2 separate regions of the Homo sapiens genome follow, and region 2 is linked to region 1. Evidence: promoter capture Hi-C in 16 types of primary human blood cells and fetal thymus (Javierre and others, 2016). All regions are on one chromosome and are shown on one strand. Each heading gives the region's core, a stretch centred on a gene start or on the middle of the fragment in contact. The rest is flanking DNA. Distances are from core to core; before and after follow the strand shown. Region 1 holds the start of NDUFAF3 (NADH:ubiquinone oxidoreductase complex assembly factor 3). Region 2 holds the start of DAG1 (dystroglycan 1).

Region 1 (2,924 bases), core at 324-2,823:
CTCATCTCCAGAAAAAAAAAAAAAAAAAAAAGCCCAGTGTAGTGGTAGGGGCCTCTAATTCCAGCTACTCAGGAGGCTGAGGCACGAGAATCGCTTGAATCCAGGAGGTGGAGGTTGTAGTGGGCCAAGATCACGCCACTGCACTGCAGCCCGGGCGACAGCGAGACTCCATCTCAAAAAAAGAAAAACAATCAGCGATTTTGTGAGAAAAGCCGTTGAGGTCCTCTCAAATCTGCATGTGAGCAAGTAGGTCTACAACAGGCAAACATACTGCTTCCCGACTTCTGAAAAGTCAAGGAATCCTAAGTAATCTAGATGAAAAAGTGACTCCTTGGTTTCTTCACATTCCCCTCCAAGAGCCCAGTGAGCCATCAGCTCCTGGCCAGCAACACACCTGATACAAAATGGGAGAAGTGTATAAATTATTATGTTGATAAGCAAGATAAGTGCCAAAGGGTAGATAAGAGTGAAAGCATTGGGAAGCCTGGCAGAGTGCAGTCAGCAGGTCAGTTCCTGGCGGTTCATTGAGCAGCTTGGCCCAAAGATGTAAGTGAAGTCCCTCCTGGTGGAGGGATGAGAGCAGCTCCAGTTACTCGGCCTTCATGACACAGGAAGTTGAAGGTGGCACAGGCATTGGGCTGCAAAGAAAAGGCCAGCATCAGCCTGTCTAGCGCCAGGCCTGTGCTCCCCGCAGCATGCCCCAGTCCCGGGACTCACCGTGTCCTGCACTTCCACAGCAATGCCCCGCTGCCTCATGGCTTGAAGCACCTGGGACTGCAGCCTCTCGGTCCGGTCTCCAGTCCCCACCACCACGATCTCTAGGGAAGGGTGGGTGTGGCTAGTCTACAGTTCTGTTGAGAGGCTGCAGTGGGGGTCGCCTTCTGGGGCCCAGAACACCTCTGTTCTCCCTCCCCTTCCCCAGTACCTATCCGGGGCTCCAGCAACCAGAAGAGGGAAAAGCTGTCTTCGGTGATGTCCTGGTGGGATCCCACCTGTGCAGGGAGGAGGCACATTTAATACGACAAATCCACGCAGCCTCTCCCCATCTCCATCCACTGCAGGAGGAGACAGAGGAAAGCCAAGTTTGCAGGGACCAAGCAGGGTGAGGGCCTGTGACTCTGGGCCTCAGTTTCCACACTGCGGGCCAGGACTCACGTTCCACTGCACCACCGAGTGCGGGAGCAGAGCGCAGGGGCCGAGCACGCGGTTTCCGTTTATCATGAAGCCGCGGCTGTTGTAGCTGTCGATGTACATTGCCTGAGCGGCCTCGCGTTGCAGCAGAGAGATGCGCGTCCGCTGATACAGCTCGTCATCCGCCGGCGAGAGCCGATGCCCTCGCCGCGGGGCCCTGCGGAGGGAAAGGGTCAGGGGCGCGGGGCCGGGCCGGGCAGCCCGAGAGGCCGGAAGGTGCTGGGCTGGCAGTCGCCGGCCCTAGGGGGCTGGATGGTCGAGGGCGCGGGGTCCAAGCTCACCAGGGAAGCTCAACGGGCGGACAGCGCAGCGAGGGTCGCGCTCGGTACAAGCTACGTAGCGCGAGAGCGGTGGCCATGGCTGACCAACGCGCGGCGAAGTCGTCACCGGCGCCGTTAGTCCCCGGGTTGGGAGGGCCCTGCGGAGCCTGACCCAGCGTGGCTGCAGCGCCCCCTGCGTCCCGGAGGGCACCGCACAGCTCGACCGGCCCAGCAGGCGAGTGTCCTCAGTCTTAGGAGGCCGAGTTCCCCGACCTCCGGCGCAGCTCCAGTGTCAGCACCTGCCGCCCTCCCCGCCCCGGGCCCTTGCCCATAGTCCCGGGGGAGTGGAACACCTGGCAGCGTGGCCACCCTCAGGGCGTTGCCTGGGCCGCAGCCGCGGCCTGGCCCCCGGGCTCTCAGCTATTAAGCCGCGCTCCCGGGGCGGGGCGACCGCCCACCTGGTCGCGTCCCGAACACCTGGCCAGGCGGTGGGTGCCAGACTTCTAGCCCCTAATTCCAGCCTTTGGGGCTTCGGGCACCGTGGGCGGGGCAGCCGGCTCAAGTTTCTCCGGCTAGACGCGGAAGCACGCCCCGCCCTAACCGTCACCCGCGCGACCGTTGGCCTCTCCGCAGCGCGCGGAGAGGGGCGTGGCCGAGCGTGGATTGGCTTCTCGGGTTCTCTAGGGGGCGTGGCCAGGTGGTTTCTCCTTAAAATGGCTCCAAGTCTGCAGGCAGCCAGAGCAAGCGGAAGGGCAAGCTGTGATAGTGTTTGGGTGGCTGTTCGGCTGGCCCAGACCAGGCCGAACCGGACCAGACTTGAAGTAGAAGCGCGTGGAGCATCACCTTGTCCTCGTTCACTCTGCTCGCGTCCTGGGAGTCCCCCGTCCCCCGTCTTGATCCAAGTCAAGGGCCTACTGGCGCGAGAGTCGCTGGCCCCCGCGCGGGGTTTGGGCATCTCGGCACGCCGGCTCTGTCGTGGCCTCAGGGGAACATTGTCGCTTTCGCTACCCGCGGGGCCGGGCGAGCGGGAAGCTCGGCACAGTGGGAGCCTGGTGGTGGGTCTCCTGGGGCCGGTCGCAATGGGTTTCCGGGGGTCCCGCGGCTGCTCTGTGGACCCCTTCGGCCCCTGGTGCTCCGGGCGCTGGCAGCGTCACCGGACAAAGGCCACCGAGCGCGGGGGTGTCCCCGAGGTGGACGCGCGGGTTTACTTCCTCTCCGGCCCCACGGGCGCGCTTCCCTCCTGACGGATTCCGAAGCCCGCCCCACCACCGTCACCGCACCAGTGGCCCAGGCTTCGTGGGACCAACAGGGCTAATCCTGCCCCACGGATCTAATCCGGATCGGGACCCGGTCCCAGGGGAGGCCCCCACCTCCCCTTCTATTGTTCTGTGGCCCAGGTGAGCGTCTTGTTCCCTCTAGACTCCGTTTCACAACCTACTCCCGGGTCTTCCTCCTGGGACTGGGGATGGGCGG
Region 2 (3,040 bases), core at 49-2,548, 450 kb before region 1:
ATCCGCCCGCCTCGGCCTCCCAAACTGCTGGGATTACAGGTGGGAGCCACCATGCCCGGCGATAAAGTTTTTAATAATCAAATGCCAGGCCTCCTTTCCTATGCATCGACGGCAGTCTAAGTGGTCCCTAAGTGGTCCCTCCAAATCCCACCATCCTCAACACTAACCAGACACAAGCAACTCTGTAGGTCACTATACCAGGTAGTCAACAAGGAATTTAAATCCTTGGTTATGCTTGGTCTTCTGGCCCATGCATTCCAGAATGTAGCTCCTCCCCCATCATGGCAGGACATCCCCTCTGTACTACCTTTTCAGTCTCTCTTTTCTGATGGCTCCTTCTCCCTCCCCACCTCTCCTCTGTTAGCTGACTTAACTGCCAGAGGTCCTGACCCCCTCCCTCTTCCTGCCACTCCACCAGCAATATCTTTCTAAACACAGGTCTGGGTCACACCACTCTACTGATTAAAAGGCTCCCCAGACTCCTGCACCCCGCATACAAAGTTGGAACTCCTGAGCACAAGGCAGGCCCAGAGCTCGCACCTGCCAAGCTGGAGGACTCCCAAGCACTATTTTAGGTGCTCATGTACATGTGGTTCCCTGTGTCCAGGCCTTGATGTCCCCCACTAATTCCTGCTGGCCCTGAAAACCACAGCTCAGGAATTCCCTCTCTCCTCAGGCTACTATGTGAGCACGCTTAGCGGGCAGACACTATTAATCATGGGTTCCCTGGTCCCCACTGCCCCCTAAACTGAATTCCTTAAGGGCAGAAGCAGACTCTTTTACATGGGTCCCTAGGATCTACCACAGAATTTGGCAGGTAGTGAATCAAAATATTTGTTCAAATGAATAAATGCATTTTGCAAAATCAATTTTTAAGAACAGTGAGGATTTGCACTGTGCCTCTTTTAACAAAAGCACATGTCAGCACAAGCTTTTATATCCCATAGGGTCTTCACATGATGGATCCAACTCCCTACTGAAATCTGATTTCTCCAAAATACAGGACACAGGCCATGAGCTCTTCTTCCTTAGTTCACAGCAAAAAAAACCCACAAAAGTTCAACTAAACTTCTCCATACTCAAACTATGGATTTTTATGCCTCCAAAATGTAGTACGGTTGAATTCTTTTTTAGAACAGGAACATTCCAAAATAATGTCTCTGAACTTAACTAAGCATAGAACCTGATAAAACTGCAATACCCCATCTACACCAGACTTTGCAAAACACCTGAAAGCACATCCAGCTCTTTATCTGGAATTATGTCCTATAAACACCACCTTCCCTTCACGGAGTCTGGCTTCTATGCCAGGAGTCACTTCTACTCGCTTATTTAGGGAAGCAGCAGGCTAGAATCTTAAGTTAGACTCTGCGCTATGAAGGTGCTGTCCCAGGCTCTTGCCTCAACCAGTCAAAACTTCATCGTCACCATTAAAACTAATTCTGAAGCAACTCGATTTACAAAAATAAGAACTTTTCAAGTTATAGAGATTAAAGGATGCATTTTAAGTTACCAGTTGAGTTTGTAGGAAACTAACTTAGAATTTATGGCAAAAAGATTCCAAGCCGAGACGACATTTTCTGTGGAGACACTATCCAAATACACTCGCAGGTGAACCAGGTCTGCCAAATACAAAGTGAAAAGGTAGTAAGTAAACAAGCTTCCAAAGGAGCTCAAGTAAGGATGACGGAACCCACCAAGGCTCTGAGCAGCTCTGACAGAGCAGTGGCGGCAGCGGTGCCCTTCCCTGCCTCTAGCGGGGCTCGACTCCCCACAGTCGGAATCCGGCCCAACTGGGCCACAACCCCTATTGGAAGCCAGGGAGGCGGCCCGCAGGCGGCTCACGACCGCGGCCAAGGCGCAGGCTCCACGTTCCCGGGAGCGCGGGCCGAGCTAAGGCCTGGCCCATCGCCGCGGCGCGCGGCCCGGGCCTTGCAGCCGAACGCTCCGAGCCTTTGCCTGCGGGACCCAGAGCAAAGGGGCGGCTCCGCCCGGGCGGCACCGCCTCCTCACCCACAAGGACGTCCGCGGCCGTGTCCCCGCCCCGGGCCGAACAGCGAGCAGCAGCAGGTGTTCCGCGGAAGGCTCAGCCGGCAGCAGGGATGGGGGCCCAAGCAGCCAGGCACAGCGGATAGGGCGGGCGGTGCACTCACCCAGCGCCGGCGGGAGGACCGCGGCAGGTGTTCGCTCCTCCTGGCCCCAGGACGCCGCCACCGCCGCTCCCCGGGGATTCGGCGCGAAGCTGCCGCCGCCGCCACCGCCAAGCCTAAGAGGCGCGAGCGCCGCGCCGCAGCCTTCGCGCGAGCACGTACCGGGCGGTGAGAGGGCGCTGAGCGCAAGGGCGGGGCGCGCGGCCGGAGCCTAGCAACCGCCTGACACGCGAGTGTTGCAGCCAATCCAGCGGCCAGCTCCGCGCGGCGCCGACTGGCTGTCCGCGCGCCGCCGGCTTCTGCCTGCGTCGGCCGCTCCGCAGCGCGCCGCACCCGCGCGCAAGCCCCGCCCCGGCCAGCACCTCTCTGCTCATTGGCTAGCCACTCCCCCGCCCTAAAAGTCACGCCCCATTATGGAAGCCTCGCCCCCACGGCCAGGGAAGTCCGTCCCGGGACACACCCCGGCGGTCGGTCCCGGTCACTCGGAGCCTTCAGAACCAGTAGTGTGGGGGAGGGGCTCCCCGCCCAACTTCAGGCCTTTGGGCCTCTAAGACTAATCAAGGGACAGTCAGGACTGCGAACTGGCCCAGCAACTGGCCACCCGTCGACTGCGTTCAGCCCTCCTTATTTCCTTCGAATGCAAATCAAGGGGTATTTCTAAGCCATGAGAACAATCAGGAAGCGTTCTCTCAATTGCAAAGGATGAAAGCCTTGCTGCCCGGCCCTTACACGGATGGGAGACTGAGGCCAGGGACAGGAGGAGCGGGAAGCTAGCTCATCTCCTAGAGCCTCGCCCACAGCAGGCTGGGGAGTCGGAAAGCGCCTCAGGCCTAACCCTCGTCCCCTCCCCCTGCCTGGAACACTGGAATCCGACGCCTGCTCTCCTGCCC

The links. The method cuts DNA at HindIII sites, captures the fragments that hold promoters and counts their contacts. A CHiCAGO score of 5 or more calls a contact.
Region 2: a fragment that was not itself captured here is called in contact with the fragment with the promoter of NDUFAF3 in region 1 in 3 of 17 cell types (neutrophils, megakaryocytes and erythroblasts); the score reaches 6.5 in neutrophils.

What each region holds. Positions count from the first base shown.
Region 1 is chr3:49,020,770-49,023,693 of GRCh38, reverse strand. NDUFAF3 (NADH:ubiquinone oxidoreductase complex assembly factor 3) reads right to left here and starts at 1,573. Exons shown (of 5, transcript NM_199069.2): 1 at 1,473-1,573; 2 at 1,156-1,348; 3 at 926-992; 4 at 718-818; 5 at 199-638. The coding sequence starts at 1,549. The coding sequence ends at 522. It also overlaps a transcript of DALRD3 not described here. RefSeq lists silencers at 1,183-1,232, 1,293-1,412, 1,453-1,552, 1,773-1,962, 1,999-2,201 and an enhancer at 1,717-2,486. The HindIII fragment of the contact is 13,281 bases long and covers 1-2,924 here.
Region 2 is chr3:49,469,547-49,472,586 of GRCh38, reverse strand. DAG1 (dystroglycan 1) reads right to left here and starts at 2,320. Exons shown (of 3, transcript NM_004393.6): 1 at 2,154-2,320. RefSeq lists a silencer at 1,902-2,641. The HindIII fragment of the contact is 729 bases long and covers 934-1,662 here.